Linked DNA regions of Homo sapiens: region 2 is linked to region 1. Evidence: promoter capture Hi-C in 16 types of primary human blood cells and fetal thymus (Javierre and others, 2016). All regions are on one chromosome and are shown on one strand. The core of a region is centred on a gene start or on the middle of the fragment in contact, and the rest is flanking DNA. Distances in the headings are between cores, read along the strand shown. Region 1 holds the start of SLC22A16 (solute carrier family 22 member 16). Region 2 overlaps AMD1 (adenosylmethionine decarboxylase 1).

Region 1 (4,014 bases), core at 991-3,490:
TATGGCGTCTTGACTGGCTGCCATGGCCCCCACCTTTCCTCCTAGGCTCAGCCCTTGACATAACTACTCCTCACTACCCTCTCATCTTCCCCCCACCTTGTATCCCTCTAGCATTCCTCACCTGAAGAACTTAGGCTTTCTTAAGTCTCTTTAGTTAGCAGGAAACTATCTAATTTAAAAACCCTCTCCAAGTTGTTTATTACTTAAGGGATTAGTCCTTCCAAGAGTATTTATGTTTCAGAAGAGAATGTCTAGATAGGATTGTGCATAACAAAAATAAGTCAATTTTTAATGGTGTTATTGTAGGCTCTGTGACAAGTAGGGGAGGGAAGCACTTTGGGAAATGGACTCTCCTCTCTTTCAAATATTATTCAAGTACAAGTTTGCGCCTGTTACTCTTCTGCTTTAAGACTGTCTACAGGGAGTTCTCCTTGTCCTTTGGTCAAAGTAAAATGTTCAACACAGCCTTGCAAGATCCTGCCGCTTCTCGGAGCCATCAGACCCACTCTTGATGCTCTGCTCTGGTAGAGCTCTGCCCTGGCCCTCAAACTGTTGGACTTCTCTGAGAAAGCGATAGGTGTGCTCAGATTTTAAGGATGAGGTGGAGAAGTTCAGAGAGAGGGCATTTGCTATGGAACTGAGGCTACCAAAGTGACGAAGAGAATGCATCCCTGTTCTCTAGGAACTCAAGGTTTAGTGGCCTTATAGAGTGGAATAGCACGCCAACAGTGGGGCCAGTGACTGCCAGGCTGACTAGAGAAGGCAACTCTCACTGTGGATATAGTCGGAAACTGGCTTTTCTGCTTCAGCGCTGTGGACCAGCAATTGACCTTTCTTCCCTAAAGTTCATTCACTTGATACCTTCCAGAAGGAAGGTCACCCCCTGCCTGGGTTGGCTATGGGCCAAACCCCTGCCCACTCCAAAGTGTGGCTTGGAATGCCATGGTCTGCTTATTAAAAATCAGATTTCGGGAGGCCAAGGCGGTCGGATCACGACGTCAGGAAATCGAAATCATCCTGGCTAACACGGTGAAACCCCGTCTCTACTAAAAATACAAAATATTAGCCGGACGTGGTGGCGGGCACCTCCCCGCTACTTGGGAGGCTGAGGCAGGAGAATGGTTTGAACCCGGGAGGTGGAGCTTGCAGTGAGCCGAGATTGCACCACTGCACTCCAGCCTGGGCGACAGAGCGAGACTCCGTCTCAAAAAAAAAAAAAAAAAAAAAAAAAAAAAAAAAAAAAAAAATCAGATTCCTGTTCCCCAGGCATCCTGAATCATCAGGGATGGAGTCTCAAAATAAATGTACATTTATTTATTTTTTATTTTTGTATAGACGAGGTGTCGCTATACGTTGCCCAGGCTGGTCTCAAACTCCTTGGCTCCAGCAATCCTCCTGCCTCGGCCTCCCAAAGCACTGGGATTATAGGCCTGAGCCACCACGCCGGCCTAATTGTACTTTTATTTTTTTGAGACGGAGTTTCACTCTTGTTCCTCAGGCTGGAGTGCAATGGCACGATCTTGGCTCACCGCAACCTCCGTCTCCAGGGTTCAAGCGATTCTTCTGCCTCAGCCTCCCGAGTAGCTGGGATTACAGGCATGTGCCACCACGCCCGGCTAATTTTGTATTTTTAGTGGAGACGGGGTTTCTCCATGTTGGTCAGGCTAGTCTTGAACTCCCGACCTCAGGTGATCCGCCCGCCTCGGCCTCCCAAAGTGCTGGGATTACAGGCGTGAGCAAGTGCGCCCGGCCTTAAATGTACCTTTTAAACCAAGTTCTGCAGTAGATTCTTAGGCATTAAAGTTTGAGAGCCATGTTTCTGAGGGGCGTCATGCTGAAGGCTATATATTCTTGCGGCCCCCGGACCGAGCCTAGCCCTTGCATTCCCACCCTGGGCTCTCTCTCAGCGACAACTTTTCCCAGGCGTCGGGGCTTCCCTCGAGCGTGGCGACCCCGCAGACATGGTGCCAAGAGCCAGGGTGGGCGGCGGGGCGGGTGGGAGAGCGGCGGCGCTGGGGGCGAGGGCACCATGCGACCGCGGGCGCCGGGACCACAGCGCGCCGGGAAGGAGGCCGAGGCGGCAGGAAAAAAGCCGAAGATACTTGGGGGGACCGAGGGGCCAAGCGACGGAGGGAGGAACAGAATACAGCCTCGCGCTGGTCCCGAGCACTGGGACGCGCGGGGAGAGCAGGAGGCCGGGCGGGGAGGTTCGGGGCGGGGCGCGCTACCCGCAGTCCCCGGAGCTCGGCTAACTCGGCGCCCAGTGCACGGCCGCACCATGGGGTCCCGCCACTTCGAGGGGATTTATGACCACGTGGGGCACTTCGGCAGGTATGGGGGAGGGGCCCCGCGGCGCCACGCGGGAGGCGGCGCCGAGGGGTCTGTTTCTTTCCGTTGCGGCGGGGTTCTCGCGCGGCGCTCGCGATCCGAAAACATCTCCACTTCCTCCTCACCCCGCGCAGTCGGGACACGGGCGTCCAGACGCCGGCCCCTAGCTGGGCTTCTCCTCTAGGCCTCTGGCAGCGGGACCTGGCATGGTGAGCAGAGGCGCTGGGCTCGCTCGGAGTGCGCCTGTTGCCGGGCAGGAGGGACCTGGTGCGTGCTCTCCGCGGCAGCAGATGCTGGAGGCATCTGGCTGGAGATCTGGCTCGAGGGGCCAGATCTCACTCGTAGGGGGTGCCTGTGCCTGGCCGCCCGTTTCTCTAATCCGCCGCCACTTCCCTAGACGGCTGCTGCCCAGTTCTGCCCTGCGCCTCCGTAGGGCCTCCCTCTGTGCCTGGCAGGTGTTCCCCAGGGACAACCGTTAGTCAGAGTTGGTTGCCGTTTATTAAAACCTAATACGTGCCAGGTACACTGTACCTGGCGCTTACACATAGTTCTTCATTTGATGTTCACCGGGACCCTGCAAAGGAGGTGTTCAAATCCTTATTTTAGTGATTGGGAAACAAGCTGGCGGGGTCAAGGACTCATAGCCAACGCATGGTGGAACCACGTTTAACCTCCGTACACCCTCTTTTCATTTGTCAAATTGATTTAAAAAATTTAAATTATTCATTCGTTCGTTCACTCATGGACAGAGCTCCTCTATCTGACTCAGAGTGTTTTGAGAGGGGAGGTAGCCGGGTGAGGGGCCATGCAGCGTTATGGCCGGAGATTTGGAGCTGCGTCTCGATCCTGGCCTGCTACTTACCTCTGATATGATTCTGGAGATACTTTGTGTGTCAGTTTCCTATCCAGAAAACGGGAATCAGGCTTAGCAAAGAGATGATGTGGTGCTGTTCTTCAAGGTGGAAGGTTGCATGCGTTTTGGTTTTGATTCCCAGTGTCTGCAAAAAGGAGCTGTTAGGACAGAGGAAACGGGCAGGAAGCCCCAGCTGTTCCCTTCTTCCTCTGCTTGCATCATTGAACGCTGCCTTGTGCCTGGCTCGGTCATAAGCCGTTGGTACATGTTACTTCCTTTAATCTTCACTACAGCCTTATAAGGTTGGTAGTATCACCCTCTTTTCACAGATGAGAAAACCAAGGTTTCTGCCTAAGCACAAATCTAATACTAGCAGGGCAGAATTGGATGCCATTGGATGCCCATCACCTCCACAGCCCACACTCTCAACCATGATGCACTCCTGAGCACGGTTAGGTGACGGCTCCTCAGCTGGGCCAAGCTCTTTATGTATGATCTCATTTCATCCTTCTGGAAGCAGAATAGCACAGAGGTTAAAAGATCAGTTTTAAGGCTGGATGTCTAAGTTCCCACTCTGGCGCTACCACACATTAACTATACGGTCTTGAGCATTTTATTTACCACTTTCTTATCTGTAAAATGGGGCTAATAATAGTACAAATGTTTTCAAATAGGAGTAGTGAAAATGTGTATATGAGGACTCTGCATGCAGTTTCTCATCCTTACAGTAACTCAATGAGGTAGGTGGTACTTACATCTTAGTTCCCCTGTGTTTTTTAGGGATTAGCTGAGGTAATTATATTAGTTGGTGTTTGACTAAAGTGCCCAATCAA
Region 2 (3,969 bases), core at 1,331-3,830, 400 kb before region 1:
GCATACCTGTAGTACCCACTATTAGGGAGGCTGAGGCAGGAGAATCATTTGAACCTGGGAGGCGGAGGTTGCAGTGAGCTGAGATGGCACCACTGCACTCGAACCTGGGTGACTGAGACTGTCCAAAAAAAAAAAAGACCAAGAACTTAAATACAGAAGGATCCCATTAGTGCAGGGTTATGCTCTAATCACCTGAAAACTCAATACATAGATGCTATTCCCATACCCAGTTAGGTCAGACACTTTCTGAGGATGATGCCTGCAAATTTTTATTTGAAAAGCTTCCAGGTCATTAGATTACTCATTACTTCCTAATGTAAAACCAGCTGGTTTCAGAGTTCAGGTAATTTATCCAAAGTCACTGCAGCTTCTCAATTCTGCTCTTACCTCATATTTTTAGGTCTGTTTTAGAGGCTCTCATTACAGTACATTCATCAGGGTGCCTCTACCCCAGGTAGTAAGCAGTCTTTAGGTAAAAGGCATCCTAAAACCAGATCATTCTTGAGTAAAGCTAGACTGACCAGAAGTTAGATTCTGAGGGTGCCTTCCTGCGGCAGTGAATTCAGATAACCTGAGAAATAAGCCTCCTCCCTTTTGTTCAAAGATATGAACCTATTATCATCACATTATTGTTTCTCTATCTCAAATTTTTACCCCAAATCGGGATACTCCTCTCAGTTTTCTGCTACTTTCAACATGTGCTTCTTAAAGATACATGGTTTGTAAACAACAGTTGAAATATTTTCGTTGTTGTTGAGAGGGTTTCACTCTGCCACCAGATGGAGCGCACTGGTGCAATCTCATTTCGCTGCAGCCTCGATCCCCCAATGGCTCAAAAAAATCCTCCCACCTCAGCTTCCCGAGTGGCTGGGATGCAGACACGCACCAGGATGGACCAGCACGCACAGATAATTTTTCAATTTTTTTTGTAGAGTCAGGATTTCACTATGTTGCCCAGACTGGGCTCTCAAACTCCTTGGTCTCTCAGAGTGCTGGGATTAGACATGAGCCACCAAGCCCAGCCATGAAACCTTTTTGAAACTGCTGGGAGGAATGTAACGAGAAGCTTTATTCTTTAGCAGGAAGCATTTCTACTCTGAAACATTACACTAAAAGGTTTTTTGGCAACGGGTTGTAAATTCCTTCAATGTAAATTATTGATATTGCAATAATGCTGCATAATGATGTAGTCAAATAAGTCATGAGTTTGGGGAAAGTTAAGCTGAGGTATGACTATCTTTACAACTGCCCCAATCCTTTACTAAAAATTATGTTTTAGTTTATAAAATCTGAGTAAAGCACAGTAATAGGATTTCCAGTCCTGAAAAATCATTCTTTTCTCAGCAAAATTTTCTATTTTCTAACAGATTTCCTTCTTACTACTCTCACCCTCCCTAAAGCTGCCATGTCTTATAAAAAGCTTTTGTTTGTTACAGCACTTTGATCCAACAACTAAACCATTTTTTAAATGGTCACTGATTTTTATTCAACATCCGTAAAATCTGAAAAATCAGAGAAAACTGCAGGTTACCCCTAAGAAACCGCCTCTCCCTTAATTGTCCTTTATTCATCTGGATATACCTGGACTGCTGCTTTTCTCCAACAGTATTGTTTAACCCAAGCTATATCATAAAAGATTTTTCTTTGTTAAATTTCTCAGTATTACATAATTTGTTCACTTAAGATAAAATATCTTAAATGGTCTACAAGAGGGAAGCAGTGTTTAGTAAAAAGGTGTACATTCAGAAAAGATTCCAAGCATTAAAGCTTGGACTGATGAGCCAAGTTTGTTTAAAGTGTATTCCCTCACACCACACACAAAATCAATTCCAGATGGATTGCAGATCTAAATATGAAAGGTAAATATCGTGTAGGAGAAAAAAATATTTCAGACTTTGGGATGAGAAAACCGAGGGAAGTATGTTGTTTCCCAGAAGAATGCGTGAAAAAAGTTGGATATTTTCTCCCTTGAATTATACAGAACACTCCAGTGAAATCATCTGGGCCTAGATGATTGACTGATTCAAGTTATTTAGGTGTTCTAGGACTGTTTTGGGTTCTCCATTTCTTCTTGCATTAGTTTTGGAAAGCTATTTTTCCAGGATTTTTTTCTCCCTCATATCCTTATCTTGTTATCCTTGTCTTTAGCATCAATACTAATGCTCTCTTTGGACATTTAAGCCTTTCATTCTCTTAATCGTTTTTATGTCCCTATGTTTATTATGCTTTATAAACAGATTTGTTTAATTCCATCTGTTCATCTTTTAACCTACTTTTAGTTTATTCACATCTTAATAGAGCCCAGGAGGTCAAGGCTGCAGTGAGCCATGATCCTGCCACTGCACTCCAGCCTGGGCTATAGAGGGATCCTGTCTTTAAAGTGTTAAAGATAACAGTTTACGTACTACATATAACATATTAACTTATTTATTCTTCACAACTTCCATGAGCTATGTACCATTATTGTCTCCATTTTACAGATGAGGAAACAGCTCACACAGCTATTAAATGCTGTTTGAATTCAAATCTTGTTATTCCAGAGGCTATGCACTTAATCACGTCATTTGAGTAAAACATGTCACGCTTTATTCTTCTAGATGACCGATTATCCTTCCCTGGGGTCTCTGGGGCTGGCCCCATGTCCCCACCGACCGGACTCCGTCCATGATACTCTCTTTGCTAGGCTGTTGATTTTAGGTGATTCAAGGAACACCTACTATTTCAGGCTTTTTTAAACATCCTGGTAAATAACCTAACCACTTGAGTGGTCACTGAAAAATGTTCCAACGAAGGTTATCACGGGACCTTAGTTAAATCAACATATTTTTCAGTTCTTGCTTAACTTGCTTTATCTACAACAGTTACAATGTGGCAGTGTACTACCAATAGTTGTTCAATGAATGTTACATGTCCACAAAATGGATGGCACTAAATCATCTACACAAGGGAATATTTTGTCCTTCAAAGTTTAACTTTGGCCATGATTTTAAAAGCCACACTGGAGCAGTAAAACAATTTGGGCTGATTAAAGTACAAAGTAAAAAGGGTTCTTAAACATTTAAAGAAAGCAGGCTGCTTTGTAAAAAGCCTCTTCCTCCTCTCTCCACTTTGACTCAGGAAGCTCTAAACAGCCAAACCGCCAAGAACTTGGGGAGAACAAAATCTTCTTCCCTTTATTAAGAACATGTACTTACTATTATTTAAGGGCTCAAACATTTAAAAAGCCAAAGTGACAACTTCTGTTATTCGTTTTCTAGGACTGTTCTTACCCAAGATTTTCTAGGTTCTTGCCAAGATTTTCTAGGTTAATTATCCTGATCACAATCGTTTTACCAAACGTCTATCACAAATACCATCTTTCTCATCTGTGAAATGAAGGAAATACTAAGCTTCTCCATGACCAAAGTCCGCTTCCTATAATCTCACGTGAGCCTGGCACGTAGTAAGCGCTATAGACATTTTAAGTGTCACACGAAGCTTGAAAAAAATGAGACGTGTGACATTTTAGCTATGACTAGTATTTTTTTCTACAATGGAATCGTTCAAGATACACTGCTAGAAACCGGGTTTCCCGTCGTGCCTTAAAGTCTCGGTAGCACGTGTCTGCCTGGATTCCCTTTTCCAGTTGCTTTTTGTCAAGGGACAGCTCCAAGAACAGCTAACACTCCTAAAACGCCCATTGGTCCACACCCTGGGGCCAGGCTCTGAGTGCGGCCCAGGAGCCCATTGGTCGCCGCCTCTCAATGAAGCTGGCCACGCCAGTTACTCCGCTGCACCGCCACCCTAGCCGCACTCGTGCGCAGAGGAGCCAGGGATCCGGTGGCAGGGCCTAGGAAGGCCATTGGTGGCCACCGGTGCGACCGCCGCCAGGAACAAGGCCTAAGCATCCACGGGATCTCTGGGCTTTTATATAAGCATGGATTTCCACAGCAATACCAACTAAAACGCCTCTTCGGCGCGGTCAGCCCA

Evidence for each region. The method cuts DNA at HindIII sites, captures the fragments that hold promoters and counts their contacts. A CHiCAGO score of 5 or more calls a contact.
Region 2: a contact is called between a fragment that was not itself captured here and the fragment with the promoter of SLC22A16 in region 1, in 1 of 17 cell types (M2 macrophages). The highest score is 5.0, in M2 macrophages.

Annotation. Positions count from the first base shown.
Region 1 is chr6:110,474,839-110,478,852 of GRCh38, reverse strand. It overlaps SLC22A16 (solute carrier family 22 member 16), which reads left to right and starts at 2,240. Exons shown (of 8, transcript NM_033125.4): 1 at 2,240-2,331. The coding sequence starts at 2,279. LOC105377938 (a long non-coding RNA gene) reads right to left here and starts at 3,336. Exons shown (of 2, transcript XR_942860.3): 1 at 3,191-3,336. The HindIII fragment of the contact is 6,876 bases long and covers 1-4,014 here.
Region 2 is chr6:110,876,136-110,880,104 of GRCh38, reverse strand. All of the region lies in intron 1 of AMD1 (adenosylmethionine decarboxylase 1), which reads right to left. Among named protein-coding and RNA genes, the nearest start is that of AMD1, 3.3 kb to the right of the region's middle. RefSeq lists an enhancer at 3,468-3,969. The HindIII fragment of the contact is 1,622 bases long and covers 1,770-3,391 here.